7 separate regions of the Homo sapiens genome follow, and regions 1, 2, 3, 4, 6 and 7 are each linked to region 5. Evidence: promoter capture Hi-C in 16 types of primary human blood cells and fetal thymus (Javierre and others, 2016). All regions are on one chromosome and are shown on one strand. The core of a region is centred on a gene start or on the middle of the fragment in contact, and the rest is flanking DNA. Distances in the headings are between cores, read along the strand shown. Region 1 overlaps SRD5A1 (steroid 5 alpha-reductase 1). Region 2 overlaps TENT4A (terminal nucleotidyltransferase 4A). Region 3 has its middle 12 kb from the start of MED10. Region 4 overlaps LOC124900934 (a long non-coding RNA gene). Region 5 holds the start of FASTKD3 (FAST kinase domains 3). Region 6 overlaps TENT4A (terminal nucleotidyltransferase 4A). Region 7 overlaps LINC02102 (long intergenic non-protein coding RNA 2102).

Evidence for each region. The method cuts DNA at HindIII sites, captures the fragments that hold promoters and counts their contacts. A CHiCAGO score of 5 or more calls a contact.
Region 1: a contact is called between a fragment that was not itself captured here and the fragment with the promoter of FASTKD3 in region 5, in 1 of 17 cell types (monocytes). The highest score is 8.8, in monocytes.
Region 2: a contact is called between a fragment that was not itself captured here and the fragment with the promoter of FASTKD3 in region 5, in 14 of 17 cell types (total CD4 T cells, M2 macrophages, non-activated CD4 T cells and 11 more). The highest score is 25.3, in total CD4 T cells.
Region 3: a contact is called between a fragment that was not itself captured here and the fragment with the promoter of FASTKD3 in region 5, in 5 of 17 cell types (activated CD4 T cells, naive CD8 T cells, naive CD4 T cells and 2 more). The highest score is 10.4, in activated CD4 T cells.
Region 4: a contact is called between a fragment that was not itself captured here and the fragment with the promoter of FASTKD3 in region 5, in 1 of 17 cell types (naive CD8 T cells). The highest score is 7.5, in naive CD8 T cells.
Region 6: a contact is called between a fragment that was not itself captured here and the fragment with the promoter of FASTKD3 in region 5, in 11 of 17 cell types (total CD4 T cells, total CD8 T cells, non-activated CD4 T cells and 8 more). The highest score is 12.9, in total CD4 T cells.
Region 7: a fragment that was not itself captured here is called in contact with the fragment with the promoter of FASTKD3 in region 5 in 2 of 17 cell types (total CD8 T cells and M0 macrophages); the score reaches 6.9 in total CD8 T cells.

Annotation. Positions count from the first base shown.
Region 1 is chr5:6,653,108-6,656,727 of GRCh38, forward strand. It overlaps SRD5A1 (steroid 5 alpha-reductase 1), which reads left to right. Exons shown (of 5, transcript NM_001047.4): 3 at 2,971-3,072. Among named protein-coding and RNA genes, the nearest start is that of SRD5A1, 21 kb to the left of the region's middle. The HindIII fragment of the contact is 6,478 bases long and covers 1-3,620 here.
Region 2 is chr5:6,741,154-6,744,872 of GRCh38, forward strand. TENT4A (terminal nucleotidyltransferase 4A) reads left to right here. Exons shown (of 13, transcript NM_006999.6): 5 at 1,337-1,444; 6 at 2,559-2,687. Among named protein-coding and RNA genes, the nearest start is that of TENT4A, 30 kb to the left of the region's middle. The HindIII fragment of the contact is 6,472 bases long and covers 1-3,719 here.
Region 3 is chr5:6,388,642-6,392,366 of GRCh38, forward strand. No RefSeq gene overlaps it. Among named protein-coding and RNA genes, the nearest start is that of MED10, 12 kb to the left of the region's middle. The HindIII fragment of the contact is 517 bases long and covers 1,440-1,956 here.
Region 4 is chr5:6,679,046-6,682,853 of GRCh38, forward strand. LOC124900934 (a long non-coding RNA gene) reads right to left here. Exons shown (of 2, transcript XR_007058680.1): 2 at 3,771-3,808. Among named protein-coding and RNA genes, the nearest start is that of LINC02102, 27 kb to the right of the region's middle. The HindIII fragment of the contact is 1,990 bases long and covers 998-2,987 here.
Region 5 is chr5:7,866,465-7,870,280 of GRCh38, forward strand. It overlaps FASTKD3 (FAST kinase domains 3), which reads right to left and starts at 2,567. Exons shown (of 7, transcript NM_024091.4): 1 at 2,515-2,567; 2 at 182-1,732. The coding sequence starts at 1,619. It overlaps MTRR (5-methyltetrahydrofolate-homocysteine methyltransferase reductase), which reads left to right and starts at 2,684. Exons shown (of 15, transcript NM_002454.3): 1 at 2,684-2,751. RefSeq lists silencers at 2,577-3,016, 3,027-3,076, 3,137-3,186. The HindIII fragment of the contact is 2,367 bases long and covers 1,137-3,503 here.
Region 6 is chr5:6,723,072-6,726,566 of GRCh38, forward strand. The region is part of intron 1 of TENT4A (terminal nucleotidyltransferase 4A); the gene reads left to right. Among named protein-coding and RNA genes, the nearest start is that of TENT4A, 11 kb to the left of the region's middle. RefSeq lists an enhancer at 3,041-3,495. The HindIII fragment of the contact is 1,352 bases long and covers 1,566-2,917 here.
Region 7 is chr5:6,697,273-6,700,587 of GRCh38, forward strand. The region is part of intron 2 of LINC02102 (long intergenic non-protein coding RNA 2102); the gene reads right to left. Among named protein-coding and RNA genes, the nearest start is that of LINC02102, 8.8 kb to the right of the region's middle. The HindIII fragment of the contact is 3,804 bases long and covers 1-3,315 here.

The DNA of each region.
Region 1 (3,620 bases), core at 976-3,475, 1.2 Mb before region 5:
AATTTATAATCATAGAAATAAACTAACACTTGGATAGTACTTTGTTGCTGAGAGATCCCTTTCACATTTCTCAGCCATGTTTTTTGTTGGTGAATTAGAATTTTATTCCAAGGTTTCATCATACCTGAGGATCGTTACAGTGAGACACCTGTCCCTCCTCTACAAAAGGAGGGTTGGCTGAGAAGGCGTTTCAAGATCCTTTTCTAGCTCCAGAGTCTGTGCCTCCATGAAATGCTAGACTAAATTCTTTGGTACTAAACTGTTGTACACTACCCCCAAATATCTTCTTGGTTTACCTGCTTTTTGACTACTTTATTTTCTTCTGCCCTACCTGTCAAGAGGAAGAACAGGCTTTTGAGTTCCTGTGCAGATCACACGATTTATGCCTCCCCATGTTCTCTGAGGCAGAAAGGATGTCCCTAAGATGTGAAAGGTCAGAAGAGTTACACAGCTGGCCCAAGACATCTAGACGCAGTGAATGGCAGAGCGGTGATTTCCACCACCTCACCAAGCTGAGCTTCCGCAAGTGGTAACAAGGAATAAGAGGAAGGGGAATTTCTTTCTTTTTTTCTTTTTAACTAAAGATACAGATTTTAAATGTTTGCCAGAGAGTCTCATGGGACTCACCTCTATGGTGAACAACAACAGAAGAACCCTCCTGTTTAAAGTAGCTCCGCAGATGGTTCGCATCACGTAGAGGTGACTGTGAAGCTGGTCAGAGATTCCAAACACCAATCAATTGTAGACAGACCTCTTGACTTCTCTACAATTAAACAGAAGGATTTGAAAAGGAAAAAATATGCCAAGTGGAAGACAATCTAGGTTACCTTTTGTGTGTTATATTTATTGCCTAGAGTTTATTGTTTTTGTGAGGAAACAGACGTGAAATTACATAAATAAGTAATTATGCCTACTGTAGTTACCATGAAGTAATAAGCAAATAATAATAATATATTTTTTTTTTTGAGATGGAGTTTCTCTATCGCCCAGGCTGGAGTGCAGAGGTGCAATCTCGGCTCACTGCAACCTCTGCCTCCTGAGTTCAAGAGATTCTCCTGCCTCAGCCTCCCGAGTAGCTGGGACTATAGGTGCATGCCACTATGCCCAACTAATTTTTTTTATTTTTTTTAGTAAAGACAGGGTTTCATCATGTTGGCCAGACTGGTCTTGGACTCCTGACCTCAGGTGATTCACCCGCCTCAGCCTCCCAAAGTGGTGGGATTACAGGTGTGAGCCACCATGCCCAGCAAATTTCTAACAAAAGGTTTTTCAAAACAGCAAAAGTGGTTAATCTAAAATATTTTATAGAAAGATTTTAAGTTTTTTTTTTGTTTGTTTGTTTGTTTTTTCTTGAGGCAGCCTGTCATCCAGGCTGGAGTGCAGTGGCGTGATCTTGGCTCATGGCAACGTGTGCCTCCCAGGCTCAAGCAATTCTTGTGCCTCAACCTCAGAGTAGCTGGGATTACAGGCTTGCGCCATCTTACCTGGTTAATTTTTGTATTTTCAGTAGAGATGGGGTTTCACCATGTTGGCCAGGCTGGTCTTGAACCCCTGGCCTGAAGTGATCCACCCACCTTGGCCTCCCAAAGTGCTGGGATTATAGGTGTGAGCCACTATGCCCAGCCAGATTTTAAGATCTTATAAATGGAATTAAATATTTAGCTTAGATGAACACAAGTACTAGTTTTCTTCCAATCTAAGCAATAAAGGGAGCTTGTCTCCTGGAAGAAACATAAAGTAACCATGTTATTTAGACAACATGATTCCTTTCTAGAATCTCATATTGGAAGCCAAATTACCTAGGGGTGAAATACTAAAATCCCAAAAAGGTAGCAAATCAACTATAAATGTATGGATCCAATAAATGACTTACAAAACGTATTATAAAACTTGGTATGAACTGCTTTGCTTAGGAAAAAAAAATAAAAGCTGATTACAGTGGCAAAATCAGAAGGAAGAAATCTTGAAACCCTTGCTATAGACCAGAAGGTTTTCCATGTCCTTTTTCTAACTGTGAAAAAGTATTCAATGTCACTGGTGATGACTCAGATAATAATGATGCCCCACGTGTACATTGATTTAATATTGAACTGAATGCCAGCACTAAGCAGCATCTGTCTTTCCCATTTTAAAAAAGTATATCAGAACCATCAAGTTAACCTCTTTTTATCAATATTTCTTTTATAAAACACTGTTTTGGCCTTTTGCCTTTTCTTGATGGAATTAATTGATGTGATACTAACAACTCTCCTTTAAGTGATGAAAAATCCCTGCGGATTCGTAAGAATAGGAGAGAAAACTGGGGATACCGTGGGATTCTGGGGAGAACCATGCAGGCGGCCACGGGAGACTCTTGTCAAGAACCGAGGAGGAAGGACTGACCGAGCAATGCTGATTGATGAGCCTGCAGGAATTCTGCTGTGGGGGAAACATAGATGCGCATTAATTTGTTTAAATGAGGTTGTAAATAAGAGAAGACCAGAGATCTACTCCTAGGAACTGCCACCCTTCAAGGGGTGACGTACAGCCAGTGGTGACAGAGCAGCACAGGAGCATCACCCCTCCTGGTTCATGTGGTGGAGATGGCAGCATTGCCTCATGCAGATTTTGTGAGAAATAAGTGGGATGCGTCTGTCTGGTGGGCTGACTCCCTGATGCTCCCTGGAAAGGAGCCGTGTGCCCAAGTCAGATTTCTGTCCATACTTGTCATCCTGAAGATGTAGATTGTGATGAACAGGTCAAAGTATTTTGAGTACATTAGATGATGTATTTGTATTATTAGGAAAACAAAGCCCTGCTTGGCATACCTGACAACAGTCCTTAATGGTTTTTACTACCAGTTATGGCTAATATGTTACACTAACAATGGTAATCTGAAGGGTTGCAATAATACTGTTCAGTCAGGCTGGGGCTCGTAGTGAAATTTTACGGTTTATTAGCCATAATCATCTTGCAATTTTTTTCCTTTAGGTTTTGGCTTGTGGTTAACGGGCATGTTGATAAACATCCATTCAGATCATATCCTAAGGAATCTCAGAAAACCAGGAGATACTGGATACAAAATACCAAGGGGTACGTACAGAAAGTGAAGAATTTCTGTGAAAGTTGCTTGCCATGGTTCCTGGCTATTTTAGTGTTGCCAGCTCTAAGAAGTAGTAGCGTAGTAGTTATTAGCTACAAGTTTTCAGTGTAAGTCATCATTATTAATAACAAGTGCTATTGTTATTGTCTTATTAGAATAACAAAAGACCCAAATCTAGCTAACTGAACAGTTATTAAACAAAGCAGAAACTCCAGTTATATCTGTGCTTGGGAAGAGAGGATGAGGAAGAATTTATGATTGACGAGGAGTGTCTGACACTTTTGTTTCTAGCAGTATAATGGAATAGATACTTTGACCCTCCTCTGAAAACAGTTTAAAACATTGGAATATTTTGAAAATCTTCTTAAACGCATCAGTATACTATCAAGAAAGGAACTAATCATCAGAGGACAAGATCTAGGTGAATGTTGGAATCTGGAGCGTGTCTTTTGAGAATTTGTGATGAGGCGCCGACCACCATGCTGGTTTATAACCCAGATTCGCACTACTTGTATAGTATGAAAAATCTCAAGCCATA
Region 2 (3,719 bases), core at 68-2,567, 1.1 Mb before region 5:
TACTGTCGCATATTGGCTACTAAGTATCTTTTCCTCTGTTACCTGAGGGCCAGTGTAGACTGTAGGGAGAGCCTGGAGCCTGCCACTGCTCATTTCTGGGGAGCACTGTGCAGCCGGCCAGTCATGGGCACAAGAGACCCAGGGCGAGGGCTGAGTTTAAGGTGAAATCTTGTCTATTTGGAACAACAACCCAAAACTGTGTTACAGTGTTAACTCCTCACCTCCAGGATTTGGGGTTCCTGCCGTGAGTGAGTGTGTGCAAGAGTAGGGCAGGAGAGTGCCAGGAGTGATTGTGGGAAGGAGTCTATGAGATGGAAAGGAAGCTGCTTCCTAAACTGTGGGTGTCAGGGAGGCATAGCCATTGAGTGTTGGCTTCTTCCAAAGCAGTTTCTGATGAGTTCTTTGGGAAAGTATTTCTTTCTCTGCCTTCTTAAGAACATACTGGCCTCAGGGCTTACCCTGCCTGGTGGTCGCAGTGGTGTCCAGGTGACTCTGGCCCCACTGGCATGTCCTCACACGCTGAGTCCTTGGTTGGTTGCCCTCAAGTGTAGACATTAAAGCCCAGAATAGGTGTGTACTGAATGCACTGTCCCTACGTTGCCTATCACTGGCATTTGAACTTTTCGTTAGACACTGATTGTTTTGGTTAAAGGAATTCCTTTTTTTAATCCTTCAAGGCTGAAGGAAACAAAACATTGCCTTTTCTTCTGGAAGAATTCAGTTTTACTGGTGGGGTGGAGGGTGGGGCATGAGTGTGGTCTGGACAGTTGCTCAGGCAGATTTTGAATGCCATTCGGTGACAGTTCTTGTTGGTGAGAATATTTCTAAAATAGCCTTTTATTTGCTGAATTTTTTAGGGGAAAAATTTTTTTAGTAAAGTTGTCTTAAAGAGTGAAAACCCAAAGTAGAGAAACAATATCAGTATAACATACAATTTAAAAAATGGCTTCGAAGTTACATTAAATGATTTCAAAAATTCTGCCAAATAAAAGTCTGGGGCCAAGCACCTCTCTCCATCCCAGCACATAGGGTGGGCGTGGCAGAGACTAACTCCTGTTCCCTGTTGGCTCCCTCCCCTCACGTCTCTTTGATGCTTGGTCACCTCTGGTGCTGATCCAGGGCTACAGGGGCTGGGCAGAATGTGGGTCCTGCTGTGAGGGGCTGGGGCCTGGGAGTCGTCCTGGGTTCAGGGACTACTGATGCTGACAGTGTTCTCTGACCCCCTTTCATTACTAAGAAAAAACACCAAACCTCTGTACAGCTTTGGCAGCATTTTGATGCCTGGCTGTGGAGAGTCCTGCATGTTAAAGCAGTTTTTAAAATGAAATCTTTACAGGTACCAATAATAAAGCTCACAGATCAGGAGACTGAAGTGAAAGTTGACATCAGCTTTAACATGGAGACGGGCGTCCGGGCAGCGGAGTTCATCAAGAATTACATGAAGGTACTGTGCTTGGTGACCCAGCGCGGCGAGAGTGCAGGACTGGAGTGCTTGTGCTTGGTGGCATCCTACGATGTTTACAGCTGTCAGCTGCACACACAAGTCTTTCGTAACACAGACTACACTTACATTATTTCTCCTACAATATTATTTCTAGAGATACTTTGAAATTACATAGCTGTTTTTAAAATTTGCTTTTCCTGAGTAACCATTTTATAAAGTTGACAATTATTTTAGAGAGCTTTGTTAAAATGTTCTTTCTAGTTATTACAGACTTTGCTTCTAGCTCAGTGTGCCTCATTCGCAGGTTTTACCCAGGTGGAAGTTGATAAATCATGAGGTGCCTTAAATATACTCACTTTGGGAGGTCTCAGTGCCTGAGGATGGGCAGAGAGACTTGGTTGAGCTGACATGTTTGGGACTCTGACCATGTGCCTGGTCTTAAACGGGTGGTCATGACCTCCTGTTACAGTAGAGGCCGTGCAGTCCTTAGCAGGGGCAGACGCACCTCCGGGTGGTCGTGACCTCCTGTTGCAGTAGAGGCTGTTGCAATCCTTAGCAGGGGCAAATCCACCCCTGCAATCTGGTCCCATCTTGTTCCATTTTCAAGGGCCTTGCTCTTCAGGTTCCCCCTTCCCCCTTGTCATCTGGTCTGAGGGAGCATGTCCACCCCAAGCGCAACACGAACAGCAGCAGCCAGGCTTTCCCTCCCTCCTGCCATCTCCTGCCGCTCTGCCTTCCTTGCCAGCCTCACTCTGCTCTCCTGCTCCGGAGGCCCCCACTGTCCTCATGGCCTGTGTAGCAAGCACATAAACACTCCAGTGAACGCGCTGGTCTCTTCCTGAGTTCCTTTGTGCCTGTGGACTCGTCATGGTAGGGGTGCACCCCTGCTGAGTCGTAACCCAGGGAGAGCTCCACAGTCTCGATTTTCACAAGCCCCTCAGGAAATTAATTCTTAGCGTCCCCCAACCAAAGTTTGAGACTTAATGACTGAGAGCCTTCAGATGGGCAAGAGGATCGAGGAAACTTTCCTTTCTGTCTTGTGTGATTTGCTATGTGAAATCTCTTTGAAAGTATGGTAATTACTCAGTAAATCTTTTTCTTTTGGAATTTACAGAAATATTCATTGCTGCCTTACTTGATTTTAGTATTGAAACAGTTCCTTCTGCAGAGGGACCTGAATGAAGTTTTTACAGGTGGAATTAGCTCATACAGCCTAATTTTAATGGCCATTAGCTTTCTACAGGTATGTATGCTTTCTTGAGACTGTTTCTGTTGAGACATGTGTAAGAGTAGACTCTTCCAACCAGTTGCCTAGTGGGTTCCAGCAGCCTTTGCTCTCCTTTTACTGTATTGTTTCAATTTGGTAGAGGCTGATTTCTGATTCTTACAATCAAACCCTCTTGATTAATGCACCTTTCTGGATGCTCATTTTGTACTGGGTGTAACTGTTGGTGCAGGGGTGCCCGTCTGGTTCTGTGAGTCCAGTGCACATCAGTCCAAGCTCAGGGAATTCTCTGTATTCAGAAATGTCCATTTCATGGTAAACAATAAACATTTCTTGGTGCTTGTCTGTGATTTATATTGAAAAAAATTTGTCTCAGAATAAAGTTGAGTACCACATATGAGAAAAGGATTTACAAGAGAGCTTTCTCAGACTGATGAAACATCATTATTTTGTCTTAAATTATATGTGGTCCTTATTTTGCTGAGTAACATGGAAAATCTATCAATAGAAAACCTACGTGTTTTAAAAAGTATTGTTAAATGCTGTGATGTATTGATAAACTGTAATTATACTTTTTAAACATATAAAATCATCTCTAATTGGAACAGTAATTATTCCGTTTATATTTTCTTGAGTGAAGAATTCTGTCCTTTACAAAATCTTGCCTATATAATTTAGCCGCACGGCTGTATTTCTCCAGTGTTTACCATTAATTTGGTCTTTGTGATTGTGCTGAGATTACCGAATCTGTCCATGATTTGGTAATGTTCTCACTGTCATGAATGCTATGATAGTAGAATCACTGGGTAACTACCTGTGATGATCGCAGCTTCCTTGGTCTGTCTCTGCCAAGATGCTTTAAAAGTAGTGAAAATGGAATTCCATGTCTGTTTTCTTACAGTTCTAGTCACACTGTCCTGTCTTCACTTTCCCCTCTGAGATGTGGCCCTTATATATAGCCTTTCTTCCATAGTTTTTGGACATTATTTTGAATTAAACATGGGCCTCTGTTCTTTACTGATATACTCCTGACTTGCACTATTTTCATGG
Region 3 (3,725 bases), core at 448-2,947, 1.5 Mb before region 5:
GGCCGAGGCGGGCGGATCACGAGGTCAGGAGATCGAGACCATCCCGGCTAAAAAACGGTGAAACCCCGTCTCTACTAAAAAAATACAAAAAATTAGCCGGGCGTAGTGGCGGGCGCCTGTAGTCCCAGCTACTTGGGAGGCTGAGGCAGGAGAATGGCGTGAACCCGGGAGGCGGAGCTTGCAGTGAGCCGAGATCCCGCCACTGCACTCCAGCCTGGGCGACAGAGCGAGACTCCGTCTCAAAAAAAAAAAAAAAAAAAAAAAGAAACTAGAGCCATTGTACTTTCCCACCAAGGAGCTCATGACCACACTGAGCCCTCAGTGACCCCAAATGGCATTTCTTATGTCCCCCTGGCTGTCTAAAGTGGAGCTCAGGTATGGCCAGGAAGGGACGCAGCCCCAGTACTTCTTTGGTATATGACTTTGGCCCATTTCTAGAATTGTCTTGGTCTTCAGTGAGATGGAGCAGGGACTCCTCCTAGGGGCCTGCAGGTCACCCCCTGCCCAGTGAAGAAATAAAGAAAACTCTTAAGTTCCTTCAGGAAAAATTCCAGGCACCTAGCTCACACTGAAAAATAACTGAATAAACAAAAAGATAATAGTAGCTTAAAACAGTAGCCAAAAAAGTTAGTCAAGAGATATGTTATTCCCTATAAAAACTGAAAATAACACCTTAACATATGTCCCTGAGTTATTTTTCAAAAACCTGAACCCCCACCAAACAGATTTGCTAACACATAGACCTCAAATTAAGGGAAACTAAAAACTAAACTCTGGTCACTGTTCTTTGTTCTAAATTTCTTCCTAAGGGGCCTGGGAACGTCACACCCACAAGTTAGAGCTATCAGTTTGGTGCAAAAGTAATTGCAGGTTTTTTTTTTTTTTTTTTTTGCTGTTACTTTCAGTGGCAAAACGTGCAATTTTGCACCAACCTAATAACATTGTTTTCTGCTGATCCCACATTTTTAGACAAAGCTTTGCCTCCTTAGCCAATCACAGATCAGAAATCTTTAAATCCACCTATAACCTGTGGGCCCCCAACTTCCAGTTGTCCTACGTTTTTAGGTCAAACCAACGTATAGTCTCCATATTTGAATTTATGACTTTACTTGTAACCTCTGCCTCCACGTTGGTAAAAACCCTCACCTATGAGCCATCTGGGAGTTGGGTCTTGAACATGGGATGCCTGATTTTCCTTGCTTGGGGCCCTACATAAACGCCTCACTTTCTCTTGCTACTATCCCAACATCAGTCTTTGACTTCGCTGCACCCAGTGAACAGATCCCTGCTGGATTCACTTACATCAGATTTCTCCTCCTGGAAATAGAAGAAATGTGCCTATTGATGTGTGGAGCATCTCGCATGGCACCTGGAATGTAGAAGGCATTTGGTAAACGTGGCTTCCTTCTATCAGTTTCTACCCAAAATGTGCAAAGCCAAGCTTTCCTTTTTGTGCTGTATACTGGCTCCTTCTTCCAAAAATGTATTTGATGATGTCATTCCTCAACCTAAAACCTCCTGACATCACCCCGCTGTCTACACCAGGGATGTTAAAATCCTCTCTCTGCATAGCCCCATCCCCATGACCATGTACTCACTCTATTACCCCAATTCTCTGGGTGAGGCAGGAGGAGAGGAGTGGGTGCATGTGCCCCTGGCAGAGGGAAAGGATTCTCGGAGGGGTGAGACAAGTAGTGTGAAAAGAGTCGACCTCCAGGAAGCTGCTCTGCAGCCCTCATTTCTCCTTTGAGAATCGCTGGTCCTCAGAACAAGTTCTAAATCCTTACCACCTGATCTGATACCACCTTCCCACTGACCAGTGCCCTACAGCCTCATGGGACCCTCACCAATCCCGCCTCTTTGCCTTTGCTGGTTTCTTTTCTCTGCTTTAAAGTCTTCTTCCATACCTTCTGCTTTACTTGGGGAAATCTGAAATAAATGTCAGCATGTTGGTGAAGCTTTTGCTTACTGCCTCAGGCAGAATTAATAGCTTCCTGGTCAGCTCTGACACATCTGGGCCCTGTTCCCTCCTCAGAGGTAGAGAATCTGCTAGAGGCTGAGAACCGTCTCCACCTTTAGACAGAATGCGTTTAGTGGTTACTGCCTGCATCCCAATGAAACCTGCTCTGCCCTTCTGCCATAGAAATGGAATTGAAGCCAGACCCATTGCTACCCACTGTCTGTGTTTCCCGTTGGTATGGTTTGGCTGTGTCTTCCCACCATTCTCATCTTGGATTGTAGTTCCCATAATCCCCACGTGTCATGAGAGGGACTCGGTGGGAGGTAATTGAATCATGGGGGCAGTTTTCCCCATGCTATTCTCATGATGGTAAGTTCTCATGAGATCTGATGGTTTTATAAGGGGCTTCCCCCATCACTCGATTCTCATTCTTCTCTCTCCTGCTGTCTTGTGAAGAAGGATGTATTTGTGTCCCCTTCTGCCATGATTATAAGTTTCCCAAGGCCTCCCCAGACCTGTGGAACTGCGAGTCAATTAAACCTCTTTCCCTTATAAATTGCCCAGTCTCAGGTATGTCCTTATAGCAGTGTGAGAACAGACTAACACACCCAGGCTTCCCTGAAGTGAGCTGTGGCCTTTGCACTAAGGGATGGGAGCAGGAATGATGGGTATCTGCTCGGGGTGGGAACATGAGGCATCAGGTGCATCTTCTTCAGGCTGTCCCTGATGTGCTGGTGATTGGTCCCACCAGGCAGGTGACAGTACCCCAGAGCAGTGGAACACTCTGAGATAATAGAAGTGTTTTGAGATCTGTGCTGTCCAACACGCGAGCCACTAGACACTTGAGCTATGGCTAGTGCAACTAGGAACTGAAATTTCAATTGTCTTTAAATGTATTTAAATTAATTAAAATTAAAATAGTCACATGTCACCAGCGGCAACTGTATCAGCCAGTAGAGCCCCTGAGGATGGAGGAGCAATGGTTTGGAAGGAACATGGATCTTAGAATGCCCAGTGGAGCAGAGATTCTCCACCTAAATGGATTACTTATCTCAGAACAGTTGAGTGAGAGAAAAACAAGGCAATGTTTTAGGACAGTTAGGAAGATAGTATCAATAGTATGACATAATGGGTATATCAGGGACTTGGGGCTCACCTTTTGAGTTCAAATCCTAGCCCTACCACTTAATAACTGTATGGCCTTGGGCAAATGACTTCATTTCCGTGTGCCCCAGAATTCTCCTCACTGCACTGGGGACACTGAGTCCACGTATCACCTGGGTTTGTTGTGAGAATCAAATGAAGTAATAAATGTAAAACACTTAGAATATGGCATCCCCATTTGTTAGCTACTGTGATGACATTTGAGGTCTCTGTTACAGCATCTTAGCTTTGCACGAATGCACCTGGCTTTGCATCACGGCTCCCACATCTACCACTCGGGTGCCATTTGTTTTCTCAGGTTCTTGGGGGTGATGCGAGTGAAGTACTGAGTGCTGTGTCTGGCCCCCATCAAGCACTCAATGTTGGTAGTCACCCTTATATAAAGTGTCATGTTGTCATATCAGTATCTGTTTGGATGTCTCCCTTGGAGGTGTCTCTAGGATAGGGACTGTCATTTCTCTTTTTGTTCTTCATTGATTAGCACAGTGAAGGTACTCGGTACATGGTTACTGAATGATTGGCTGATTGCATAAATAACTCTTCTAGTGTTAGTTTACCTGAAAACCCAATACTGTACCTATTGAGGCTTCTGAGGTGTCCC
Region 4 (3,808 bases), core at 743-3,242, 1.2 Mb before region 5:
GGAAAGGACAGCAGGACCACATAATAAGGAGTCCTTATGTCCCGATGGCAAGTTGAAGATGTTATTCTGCAAGTGATATGGAAGCATGGATGTTAGGCCAGAAATACTATGACATAATGTTGTATTTAAAAATACTTCCCAGAACCCAAATGAAGAGGCATTCTAAAATACCTAACCAGTGTTCTTCAACTATGTCAAGGTCATGAAAGACAAGAAAAGAATGAGGAACTATCACAGCCTGGAGAGGACTAGGGAGACAAGACAGCTAAACAAAATGTGGGATCCTGTATCATACCCTGGGGTAGAAAAATGACATTAATGGAAAAGCTGTCAAAACTTCAATAAGATCTGCAATTTAGTTAAAAGGGCAGTACCCTTGTCGATTTCCTGATTTGATAATTGCCCTAGGGATTTATGGGAACTCTGTACTATTTTGAAACTTTTCTCTGATCATCTAAAACTATTACAAAATAAAAATAAAACAATAAAAAAATAAAATGCAAAGCATGGGATCCAACTGAAAATCTAAATAGCTATCAGGGAACTCCACCAAAAGACCCCCGGCAAGAGATGAGGAGAAGGACCTGGTAAGACGAATAGGGAGATGAAGGTGACCAAGAGGATCCTAGCCATCAAGGGACCACACAGGTTGTTAGGGCAAAGCCTCCAACTCCAGGGCACCCAGATGTCCACGCACACATAGAGGGCATGAGTCAGACTCAAGCAAGTGGCAGGGGTGACTTGACACTCAGGCTCAGAGATTGGGCTGGTGCTTCTCCCATCCTTTATGTGTTCAGTCCAGAATCATCCTTGGAGCTGAGCCATGGCTAAATCCAGAGATGGAGAGGTAAGTACTTACAGTGAGGTAAGTAGGAAAAAAGAGGCTGTCTCTGCCCACAAAAAGATTGAGATGGTCAACACTCAGAATTCTGAACACCTGGAACCTGGTTCTATGAAGCTGTCATGCGCTGGGGAGCCTGAGGGAGACAGATGCACAAGCTTGAGTACAGGACACTTTATGAGCAGCTGGAGTTTTGATCCCAAACCTGTGTGCATAGGGCCCAGCATCGTGTCGCTTTCTTTCCCTCAGCTCATCCCTGCTTCATTCATTCAGAAATTATTCACAAGCCCCCTCTGTGTCTGGGTCTGTGCTAGGTTCTGAGAATCTCAGAGTGAGCTGAGCAGACATACCTCTGTGTTGACGGATCTTGGAGTCCAAGGGGGAAGACAGTACTGTTACTGAACTACTAGGTATACAACTAAAGACCCTGCAATGCTGCCACGTATTTATTCTGTCAGTCTTTCTCCAAGCACTCTCCAAAGGACCAGTGTCCATTCAGTAGGACAAATGTGCAGTGGAGAAAAGGAAATTCTCAGAATTTGGAGAATTGCTAGATGATGGCTCTGAATTGATGCTAATTTGTGGGAATAATGATAACAGTGAGCTTCACTAGTGAAAGGGAAGGCTTATGTTGTTTAAATGATAAATGGAGTTTTTGCCTAAGCTCCACAGTGGGTCCAGTTGGCCATGGGTCCACTTTGCTGTTATTTTCCAGTGCCTGCCAAGATTAGGTGGAATACATGCCATCAGAAATGGAAAGACTACACACGTTGCTTCTCTGATGCTTGGAATAAGAGCTAGTATGGGAGGAAACAGCAGGTAGAATTCCTGGAACTTTTCCTTCCTTCTAGGACAATAAACCCAAAGTAATACCATATTCCTGAGTAGACTGCAGAGATTGGCATGACCCTCAAAGATATAAGAATGGTGGCACTGGCAGTATTTCTGCAGTAAACTTTGACCAGGTTACTCTCTTTGAGTAACTTGAAAGACTATTACGTCCCCATTTAGCTTACCTATTCAGCTTTTTCAGAAGGTATGGGCTGTGGATTACCATAAATTTAATTAGGCAGTGAATCCAAAAGCAGCTGCTCTTCCACGTTTATTGGAAAATATTATCACAGCTCCTGGTATTTGATAGGCAGCTATTGATCTGACAAATGCTTTCAATTTCTTTTCCAATTTGCAAGTACTGTATGCAAAGGGGTTTGCGCTTACCCAGCAGGGCCAACAATACACCTTCACAGTCCCGCCTCAGAGTCGTGTTCACCTTTTTTCACTCTGCCATAACCTAGGCTGTGGGGAACTTGATTACTCTGACATCCTGGAAAATGTTATACCAACCCTCTATATGGCTGGAATTATGCAGGTTGAATTCGATGATCAGGAAGGAACTTTCGATACTATATTAGCTCAGGCTGCAATAACAAAATCACACACTGGGTAGCTGACACAACTGAAATGTATTTTCTCACAGTTCTGGAGGCTGGGGGTCCAAGATCAAGGTTCCAGCAGGGTTGGTTTCTGGTGAGGTCTCTCTTCCTGGCCTGTGTATGGCACCTTCTCACTGCATCCTCACCATAGCCTTTCCTCTGTGTGCTCAGAGAAAGAGTGGGGTCTGGTGTCTTCTCCTCTTCCTGAAGGACACCAGTCCTATTAGATGAGGGCCCCACCTTCATGGCCTTGTTTAACCCTGAGGGCCTCCTTAATGCTTCCATCTGTAAATACAGTTACACTGGGTGCAGGGCTTCAATATAGGAACTTGGGCACACAGTTCCATCCATAACAGAGTTGGTGTGTGTGGTGGTGTGTGACTATATCTGTGGTGTATGTGTTTGTGTGTCACTATATGTGTGTGTATATGTGTGGTTTGTGTATGTATGTGTGTACATGTGCTGTGTATCTGTGTACCTGTGCAGTGTGTGCATCTGTATGTGTGGTGTGTATGTGGTATGTGTGTGTGGTGTGTGTGTGTGTGTGTGTATGTGTGTGTATGTGGTATGTATGTCTGTGTGGTGTATCTGTGTGGGGTGTGTGTGTATCTGTGCGTGGTGTGTGTGTATGTGCAGTGTGTATCGTGTGTGTGTGTGGGGGGTGTGTGTGTGTGTAGTCAACAAAAGCTGGCTACTACCACAGTGGGGAAATAAGCTTGTTTAACTTTCAACATGAAAAGTCCAAAATCAAGTAGCAAGTGGGTGGGAGCTACTGAAAGCCTAGAAGCCAAATTCAAGGGGTTGCTCAAATCCCTCACAGGAGCAGGGCAGCCTCAGAGGAGCAGGGGCCAAGCAGTGGAGCTACAGGGGTGCAGCTAGAGGAGTAGGGCAAGAAGGGTCAGGTTAGGGGTGGGGGTACAGGGATGGGGCTAGAGGAGTGGTGCTAGATGAGTGGGCTAGAGGATGGGGCCAGAGTGGCTGGAGCTAGAGGGGTGGGTTTGGGGTGGGGTTAGACAAGTGAGGCTAGAAGTGTGGGGTTAGAGCAGTGGGACTACAGAGGTGGAGCTAGAGCGGTGGGGCCAGAGGGGCGGGGCTAGAGGGGCGGGGCTAGAGAGGTGGAGATAGAAGGGCGGGACTAGAGGAATTGGGCTAGAGGGTCGGGGCTAGAGGGGTGACGCTAGGGCTCAGACTCCAGGACAGACAGAAGTGACGGGGATCGACAGGCTCTGGGAAGTCTCGTGCCTCGTCTGCCTCCCATGGCTGGCTCTGCTGCGCTGCTGGTGATTTGTGAAAGTGAAGATTTTACTTTGAAGTGCAAAAGCTGTTCCATTTGTTGGTCATAAAGACATTTTTAGGCAAGTAAGTAAATAATTAATGAAATGTTTTGTTTTAATTTTTTAAGAGAATGATTCTATGCCTTACATTTGTATAAAGCAGTGAAAAACAACACCCTATCCCCCCCTTAAGAACCAATTCAAATAAAATACAAATGTTTATGCAGTTCACATTTTTATTCATAATGAAAATGCTTTAT
Region 5 (3,816 bases), core at 1,317-3,816:
TACATGATTTCCTAGCATGCTTTAACTGTGTTTATGCCAGCATCTGTTAACTTCAGGTCTCATCTTCGGATCACTATGGAAGAAAAACTAAAGGCAACATATTGCCTTTATATGTGACTTGAAACCACTGCCAGTTCAAAGGTTACTTTTTTCCAACTGTCAGAATTTATAACCAACTCACCTTGCAGCCGTTGAAGGAAAAGAGGCTTGAATATTTTTGCCAGAAAGTTGACTGGATGGCATTCATTAAGTGAACATGAATGAAGAAGTTTCAATAATGATTTGGGTGGAAAATAATTGAAATGAGTGAATAGCACGTTTTCCAGCTTTCTAAATAAAGCAGAGGCATTTGGTGGCAAATAATTGAGTTTCCCAAATGGTTCCATTAAGGCAGAAATCTGACGAGGTGAAAATTTTTCTGTTTGGCAAACAAAAGTTTCTGCCACTGCATTGAGGATGGGTTTTGAAAGAATCAGTTCTCTACTGCAGTACTCCATGACCCTGCAGACAACTTCAGGATCCAACGTGAGGCACACCGCAGCTACACGATGCTCTAGGGCTTTTGTAAAAAATGTGTCATGGTGCCCAAAATATATGAACGCCTCCAAGACTCTCCTAAGCTCCTCGTTAGTGAAATGTGGGACATGCCTCACGACATATTTGCCCAATTTTATAATCAGAGGAAATGCTTGACTTTGATCAAGAACCACCAGGGCAGTGAGCATTTGGCTAATCAATTTAGGACTCAGGTTGGAAACTATTGATAGGGAAAAGTTGTTTATCTTATTTAAAAATGTTTGGTGTTCATCCACTTTTTCAGTACATGCCTGCAAGATTCTATAAAGGGCCACAATATCCTCCGGGGTAAATGTTTCCAATTTTTCACCTTGAAGTTGATTTATAATGAGTTCTAGTGTCACACAACCTGAACTGTGCAGTGTAATCAGACTTTCCCCAAGAATACAAAGATTGCGAACTTCCATGCCACCTTTTCTGAGACGATTTTGGCATTCTGCCACCAGGTTCAGCAACAGGCTACTTTGAGGATCCACATGCAACAGAATCAGAGCTTGCAAAGCAGTCACTAAACTAGTGTTTGACAGCTGTGAGGGCTCCTTTTCAAACTGAAAGCATAAAGCTTGAAAGATGCTATTCTCCAGTATTTCTTTTGGCAGCCCTTGATCACCATCCTTTTTTTCCACTTCACAAATTCGTTGTAAAGCTCCTGCTGCCATAGTGTCAGGCAGGGTTTCCATCGTGCTTATAAAACTTAGCACTTCTTCTGATGAAGTCAAGTTGCTCAGTCTCCTGTAAAACATCTGACTCTCCTCATTTTTAACATTTTGTTCAAGCCTGTCGCAGTCAGATACTTGAGAGAACACTGGTCCACCGAGTGGATGAAGGTCATTTCCATTTTTCGAATGAAACTTTTTACAATGGGCATGATGGAATTTGACCCCGAAAGGCTCAGGTTGTCGTGAACACAACCAAGGGCACAGACGCTCCTTGACTACCTTGTGAACATGATTTAGAGGTTTATTTTTTAAAGCAGCCAGAGCTCTATGCATCTGAAAATCAGATAAACGATAAAGGTTCTTCCTCAAGGTGATTAATGCCATACCATCAGATTCTCAATTTGATAACTAAATTAAAAAATTTAAAAACACATGGTTAAATACATTGAGAACATGATTGACCCAACATCAATGTTTATGAAACTACAAACGAGTATCTGGAAAAAAAAAAAAAAAAAAAAAAAGGATGGTTAACATATAAACACCAGAGGGGCAAAGTCTCTGCATCCTAGAGTTAGAAGAGTGGCTGACATTGAACAATAACAATCGCTATTACTTGCTAAACACTGTTGTAGGTATTCTATTAACTTACACAGATTCAGTACTTTTACTATCATTTTACACGAGGAAGAAGTTGAAGCACAAAGTTACTTTGCCCAGTTTATGCAGGTGGTTAAGTGGCAGAGCTAGGGTTCAAACTCAGGCAATGTAGCTCTTAAGGGTGGCCCTTAAATGTTGGTTGAAGGAAGAAATTGCATTTGGATAGAAATCAAAGAACAGGTAAAGTGGGCAAAATTAGGCGAGGTTAGAGCAAGGCAAGGGTAAAAACGCGCTGGAAAGGCCCTAAGCTGTTGGTTTCCCCTCGGTGTCGGGAGAAGGTTAGTGTTGAAGGAAAGGGTCTACTTTGTCAATGGAAACAAGGTAGGAAAAGAAAAAGCAAAACATAGATCAATGAAGGGAGAAGGTGGGGCGGCCAGTCCAGATCTAAAGACGGTGCGGGGGGATTTGGCAACACGTGTGTGCAAGACAGACAGACGGGAGGCCCCGCGGCGCGTTTTCCTAGGAATGAAAGGGACCCGCGGGGCGAGCACCCCCAAACTCGGCGCCCCGGGGACCTGCGCTGAGACACGGGCCGGGCGGCGCAGCCTGAGGAGAAAGCCGGCCAGGTCTTTGACACCCAGCCGGACCAACTGCGCGGAGACCCCGCGTTGACACCTACCGCGCTCTGCCGGGCAATCACTCCGGGTGGTCGCGGAAGCGCCTGGGCGTCGTGGGCCTCCGTAGCAAACGCGGGGCGGGAGCACGACTCAGGGCGGCGCAATGTGATTGGCCCAGGTCCCCTTCGGAGCTTTCTATTGGTCCTGGGTACCGAGCATGGGCGCTGCGTCAGTGCGCGCTGGCGCAAGGTTGGTGGAAGTCGCGTTGTGCAGGTTCGTGCCCGGCTGGCGCGGCGTGGGTAAGCTGCCTGTCGGCTACGGTTCCCGGATTCCGGCCGCTCGCCCTGCACTAATCTCCTGGGAGAGGCGGCCCGGGGCGGGGGTGGGCAGCCGGCTTGCGCCCGTGGTTCCCACGCCCTTCGGCCTCCGGGGGTCGCCGCGGGCGCGGGCTGGGGCTCGGACTTGGCCTTTGGCCTTTGGCTTTGGTGTCCCCGGGAGCGTGTCCTTGGGCTCGGCGTCGGCCTCTGCCGCGGGAGGCCCCTGGGCGGCGTGGGGTCTCTCCTCATGTTCTGCCTTTGGTTCTAGGCGCTTTCCAGGCCTAGGGAAACCGCACTCGGGGACGCGGGGAACTGGGGAACATGCCGGGTTGGGGCGGCGCGCTCCGGGGAACCCGGGACGTTCCGAGCGCCCACCCGGCGGGACGCGGCCGTGAGTTCTGCCCGCGGCCGTGAGCTCTGCCCACCGCCTCCGCGCCGCTTCCGGGGCTGCTGGGGCCCGGGCCTCCGCTGAGAGTCGTGGGAAGGTGGTGCCGGATTGTGGGGCAGTAGCAGGGATGAGGGGTTGATTGATCCTGGGAAGCCCTCAGGATGTGTGTTTCATGGGAAGTGATAGAAATTTTAGCTGTAGTAAGGTTTTCATTATCGTTTCCACCGTTTTCTGTGAGCTGTCAATGTGTAGTGTTTTCATATTGTTTATTCACTCATTCAGATAACTTATCGAGTACCAGTTTCATGCCAGGTGCCGTTCTGGGCGGTTCATTCACCGAAAGCCAAGCTTTTGGTTTGGGTTTCAGTTTAAATCTGTCTCTGCAAATTGACAGCCCACCAATTTTAGCCGTTAGATGAGTATGGAAAAAAATCTGTGAGTGTCGTTTGTTTTACTACTGCTTATCTCTTGCGGAAAAACGTGTTAGTAAAATGTTTAAGTGGATTGGAAATATTTTTTCGTTATATGCACCCGTTTGTATATATGCCCATACACTCACATATTTTTGATTTGCATTAAATAATGAAGGAGAGTATGTGCTTCAGTTACCTTTAGTACTATGATTAGTTTGTTTAGCGTTAGGATCAAATAAGAACCAA
Region 6 (3,495 bases), core at 992-3,491, 1.1 Mb before region 5:
TAACTGTTGCTGAAATAAATTGAAACTCATACAACAGTAAAAGCTGTGTTACTCAGCAAGTTATCACTGTGAAAGCTCTAGAAATTGTTTGAGTTTCCAATGCAAATCCTTTTCAAAAAGCCGCTGTTTTAATAGCACATGAAGCATAAAATAGGTTCATAGCAGAGCGCAGCACAGAGCAACATGGAGCAACTGTTATGACCTGGAGTGTCTCCAGTCCAGCATGCAGGTGATAGGTCTCAGCATTTTTGCACGCAGGTTAATGATGGTGCAGACGGTCACTTCCTTCTCTCAACAGTCTTCCTGGTCACGAGCACCATTGTGGCTCGTGTGTGGGGCTCTTTTGGCTTAGCTCTCTGCACGAGTTTGCTCCTTTAGTTCCCAGAGCTGACCCTTGAAATGAGTGATATTACTCCTGTTTTGTAGACAGAAAACTGAAGCCTTGACAGTCTGACGTGACCTGGCAAGAGGTGCTGCAGTTGGAAATGTGAATTCACGGCTGACATCTGGGCACTTTACTCCTAACAGTGTTCAGTGAACAAGACGTCGCTAACATGCGGGGGATGGAACCTAGCAACTCATTCTACAAACATGGTTCAAATATGTTGGTGCAGGGCCTTTTGCTTTGTTTTCCTAAAGAGATTAGATTCAGATGTGGTGGGGTGCTTTGACAGCCACCGCAGGACAAAGTTGATAGCTGTGGGGTTGCGGAGTGTTGAGGATTTCATAGGGAAGCCAGTCCTGCGCAGTAGTACGCTCAGGTTCGTGCTTTCTTGAGGTGTTCCAGAACTGGCCTGGAGGGAGGCTGCAGTGTGGAAGCGGGATTTCTGTCACCTGGAGTATTCTTAGAAGTTGCATTCTATGAAGAGTGGAGCATCTGATGAGCTGTTTACTCGCTGTTTCATCTGACGGCAGTTGAAAGACAAGGCAGGACTGGCAGCGCAGCTGCCTCAGTCAGCACTGCTGCACTGGGGGCTTGACCTGCAGTCTCGCAATCCTGGACTATAACTCATTTTGAAGAGAGAAAAATTAAGCATTAAGTGATTCAAGCGTCTTGCCCAAGGCGCTACTAGAAAATAAAGGCACTGGTGCCCAGATGCAGGTCTGCATGGTATGCAAGCCTGGGCTTCTTCCCACCTCCCCCACAGAGAGGGCACTGGTATGTTGGAGTGAAGAGCCACGCAAGACCTCTGTGAATGGGCAGAGATGGGCCAGTGACGCAACACAGTAAAGTGTATTTTGGTTATAGGCATCGTCTCTAAACTTATGTAAAACATTATTAAAAAATGGAAGGACAACGATGAAATGATGGCCAAAAATATAGAAAAGGATACCTTGCATGTCCTGTGAAATGCAAAGGAATTCTAAAGTGTCATTATGAGTTACCTCATGGAAGAAAGCAAAAGGTGAATCTATCTAGAGTTTGTGGTTCTGACTCACAAGAGACTGATGTTCATGCTGAAGGACGAGTGTGACAGGTGGAAGGATAGAGCACCGAGACCACACTCTAAAGGGTAGGAATCTATGGGAACTATTCAGGGAGATGAAAGCATGGAATGAACTGAAGCTTGCAGACTCGTTGAGTAAAAAGCGCGTTTTAGGATTGGTTTTAGAATAAAATAACAAGGCCTGTGGTTGGGGAAGATGACTTGCTGTTCACAGAGCCTCCCTTAATAGGTGGGGACCTCAGCTTTTCCTCTGCTGCCATCAGGTGAGTGGTGTACAGTCCTAGCCACAGTAGTAATCACCACTGGCCTGACTGAGCCCTCACCCTTTATACAGTGTCTCCTGCCACCCTCCTGGGAGAGGCTGTTCTCGGCACAGCTGGCCTGGGGTCACACAGCTGGTAGGTGTAAAGCAGGCATTGGAGTCCAGGTAGTCTCACTCCGTAGCCTGTCTCTTTAGCCACTGGAAATGTAGAGCAAAGCGAGAATTGTCCAAAGAGATAAGCTAATAAAGAGGAAAACAGGCTGGGTGCAATGGCTCACGCCTGTAATCCCAGCACTTTGGGAGGCCAAGGAGGGCGGATCACAAGTTCAGGAGATCGAGACCATCCTGGCTAACACAGTAAAACCCCATCTCTACTAAAAATACAAAAAATTATCCGGGCGTGATGGCACGCACCTGTAGTCCCAGCTACTTGGGAGGCTGAGGCAGGAGAATCTCTTGAATCCAGGAGGCGGAGGTTGCAGTGAGCCGAGATCACACTACTGCACTCCAGCCTGCGTGACAGAGCGAGACTCCGTCTCAAAAAAAGAAAAAAAAAAGAAAACAATTATGCTGAGTTCCAGAGAAGTGATGTCTGTCTTCTCAGGAGAGATGCCGATGCTGTCTGAGGGCCTGCCCAGTCTCCACATGATTCAGAGACTCCAGAGATGGACAGCTAGTGCCCTGATTTTCCCAAGAGGATTCTGAGGGTGACTTCTGTCAACCAAACAGGAGGACCTGGTGCTGTCATCACCAGTTGTAGAGAGGCTGCGGACCACCTGCTGTGTGTGCCATCTTACACTGCCATTTGCTGATTGCTTCAAAGCTAGAGGTTGTTTCTAAGAGTGCTTCGTGCTAACTAACTAAAACATAATGACATTGTTTTTGTAAAACTGATCCGTGGTTTGTTTTTTAAAGCAGAAAGCTCTAAAGTCACTCAGTCCCACCACCCAGAAGCACAAGCAGGTGGCTGCCACTGTAGGACCTCTCTCTCTAGGCTCGTGTAGATGGACACATGGATTGGTCAGTAGAAATACTTTTATTAAAAGTCTTATCTTTACATAAATTTGCCAAATTATTAATTTTGCTTGAAAGGGAAAGGTGTCCAACTTCAGTTGGAAATACTAGTTTCTAAGAGATACTGCTGAGACTAAGAGCATAAAACATGATGAAAACCTTAAGTGGCTAAGTGCAGCAACGTCAGAGTAAAAGCTTTGATGAAGTCTTGGTTTGCTTGGGCTGTGTAGGTTGGAGGCTCAGCCTTTGTTTCTCCCTCCTCTGGTGCCCAGTGGTGGTGTTTGTGTCCGTGAATTTTCAACCTCTGTAGTTTGTTTGTAGTTATGACCACTGTTGCACCGAACCCTTACCGAGGGCCAGGCCCTGTGCTAAGCACTTGCCAGTGTGGATTTATTAAGTCTTCATGACAGCACCATGTAGGGGGAGCTGCGTCCCTGTGTTGTACTTGGGACGCGATCTGACCTCAGGCACTTCAGGCTCCTGAAGGGTCTGCAGTCTCGTCTCTGCCTGGGAAACCACGATTTGCAGCATATTCCACAGACCTCATGCTCATCATCAGGAGGCTTCCCGGGACTGCTGCCTGAGATTTCTAAGTTCCTAATGTGGTTCATGCTTCTGGTGAGTTTCTTTGAGGCGACGCCCCCTGCGTTGCCTCTGGTCAGCTCAGTCCTGTGGTCCTGCAGGGCATCCTACAGTGTCCTCTGTCTGTGACTTGTGCCGTGCCACCTTGACCTGGCATCCACTGTCCTCTACCGCGTTTGCAGATAGGAG
Region 7 (3,315 bases), core at 382-2,881, 1.2 Mb before region 5:
TCCTTTCACCGGTTTATGTTTTTGTGTGCTTTGTCAAAGATCAATTGATTGTAAGTATCTGGCTTTATTTATGGTTCTTTATTCTGTTCCATGGGTCTATGTATCTACTTTTATACCAATAACATGCTGTTTTGGTTACTACAGCCCTTGTTGTATAATTTGAACTCAGGTAATATGACGCCTCCAAATTTGCTCTTTTCATTTAGCATTGTTTTGGATATTCAGGCTCTTTTTTAGTTTCATGTGAATTTTAGGATTGTTTTTCTAATTCTATGAAAAATGATGTTGGTATATTAATAGGAATTGCATGGAATCTGTAGATTGCTTTGGGCGGTATGGCCATTTTCACAATATTGATTTTTCTAATCTATAAGCATGCGATGTACTTCTATTTATTTGTACCATCTATTATTTCTTTTAGCAGTATTTTGTAGTTCTCCTTGTAGACATATTTCACCTTTGTGGTTAAGTATATTCCTAGCTTTTTTGTGGTTATTGTAAAAGGAATTGAGTTCTTAATTTCATTCTCAGCTTGGTCATTGTTGTTGTATAGCATTGCTATGGATTTCCCTACACTGATTTTATAACCTGAGAGTTTACTGAGTTTATTTATGAGATCTAGGAGTCTTTAGGGTTTTCTAGGTATATAATTATATCACCAACAAACAGATAGTTTTGATTTCCTCTTTTCCAATCGGAATGTCTTTTTGTTTCTTTCTTTTGCCTGATTGCTCTGGCTAGGACTTCCTGTATTAATTCTTCTATGTATTTAGCACAAGTTGATAAATTCCATTTATAGAATCTAAAAATGTAATATAATACATTTAAATTTATAGAACTCCGTTGGGGTTTTGTTCTTGAACTTACCAAAATTGTCCTGATTTATCTAGAACAATACATTTGCTTGAATATACAAGATTTTTTCAGTAAAATAACATTTAATTTTGGAGGAGAAGTATCCTCTTACTAGATAGTAAACATCAATTTACAGTCTAATAAGCAAAACAATATTTTTTTCGTCAACAAATAAATAGACCAATCACTGGAACTCAATAGAAACTTTAGAAATGTACTCAAGTTTCTGTAAGAATTTATGATATCATAATCTCAATAACTGGAGAAATAGTATATTGGAATGCATTATCATTTAGAAAAAAATAAATTTCCTATCTTATGTCTTACACAAAATAAATTCAAAATGCATTAAAGTTTTGTTTTGCTTTTTTTCCTCTAGAGACAAGGTCTCGCTCTATTGCCCAGGCTGGAGTACAGCAGTGTGATCATAGTTCACTGCAGTCTCAAACTCCTCAAGCAATCTCCCACTTCAGCCTCTGGAACAGCTGGAACTACAAGTGCATGCCACCACATCTGGCTAATTTTTTAATTTTTATTTTGTAAAGACGCAGTCTCGCTATGTTGCCCAGGCTGGTCTTGAACTCCTGGACTCAAGTGATCCTCCTGCCTCAGCCTCCCAAAGTGCTGAGATTACAGGCATGAGCCACTGCACCTAGCCTGAATTAACGCTTTAAATGTGAAATGTAAAGGCAGATGGTGAATATATGTATTTGATTGGGTAAGGAAATTCTAAGCATGACTCACAGTCAGAAAAAGTACTCTATGAATATTTTTCCCCTTCACAGTGGTTGGTCATTATTCCTAAAATATTATACTAACCCACTGAACCACTGCTTTATGTCTCATGATCCACTAGTTGGAAATTTTTTTGTCTTCACATCTTTCTTGCATAAAAAACTTACATATTTAGAAGATTTATCCAGTAATGGGCTTTACATTTACCATAAATATCATTTTTTTCTCCCATGAAATTATAGGTCACATTTTAGACATCAGGAGACTTTCAGTCCTAAGAAGTTACAATTTGAAATTAAACTTATCTAGTTTTTAAAAACTTCTAAGCTAGCAGGATATAAATAATGTGCTAGTGTTGGCAATAACTGTTCATAGCTGTTTCAAAAATTTGAATTCTGGAAATGAATTCCCTCAGCAGCATGTTTTGTTTGCTTCAGGCATTTTGCAAATACAATACTTTCAGAACACAGCTTTCTATCTCCCCCATGAAGTAATTTGAGAACCACCTTTATGGTTTGTCATTTTATTGTTTAGACTTGAAATGGATTCATCTGTCTTACTAGTTAAGCCTTTAACTAATAATATAATTACAGCATTTATGCATGTATTTCTTATGACACTCCAATCTTCACAAACTCCTCCTTAGGAATTAGTGTAAAAGAAAGAGGTGAAATTTCTCCCATCTCCCTCCAATAGCTGTGTGCCTTCTGGCAAACACATGCTATGATCTGTGTCTCTAAAATATGCTGAGTGCTTTGTCCTGAAAAGAGTCCGCTTCTCTGGAAAAAAAAGTTAGCCAAGATCCCTCTCTAACTTTATGATGAAAAGTATCATTCCAGTTGAGAAGCACAAGTCCCATTCAAAAGGAATGGAAGTGAATTTTACAAAGATTATGTGATTGACCTGAAGAGGAAGACAAAGCAAATTGAATATATCTTCTTGTACCATACGTGACAATTTCTTTGAAGGTTTTAGGGCCATGAATATGACTTTCCTAATAAAGCAACCCTTTTCAATTTTTTTTTTTTCCTTTTGAGATAAGGTCTCACTCTGTCACCCAGGCTGGAGTGCAGTGGTGCAAACGCAGCTCACTGCAGCCTTCATCTCCCAGGCTCAGGCCATCCTCCCCAGTAGCTGGGATTACAGGTGCACACTACCGTGCCTGGCTAATTTTTAAAAATGTTTTGTAGAGACAGGGTTTTGCTATATTGCCCAGGCTGTCTCAACTTCCTGGCCTCAAGTGATCCTCCCGCTTCGGCCTCTCAAAGTGCTGGAATGAGCCACCACACCTAGCCAATCATCTTTTAATTTTTACTTAGTAACTGCTTACATTTTCAAGCAAATGTGAAAACCTAAGTCTTTTGTGCTCTACGTTGATCTCTTCCTGAATGTGGTTTGGCTCAGAGCTCAGCATGCTTGGCATTGACTCGGTTACTCCTTAAATATTTACCAGTCGTCAATACTTTTCTTGTCCTCCGCCTTACTCTTTTGCTGTTTGAAGCACTTGGAAGTGAATAATGTCTCTCTCAGTTTAGTTTGAGACTTTTGTGGAGCATTTCTGCCCTGTGATGCTGGGGATGCCTGTTGCAATGCCTGTTGCATTGCCCCTCCTGGGAAGCACAAAGGAGTGGAGAGGCAGGGGGGTGAATTCACACCACGCCAGCATGTGTTCACTGGGGGCTTCCTGTCTGCAGGCCACGGAGCTGGGTCCAGTGAAGGGCTCAG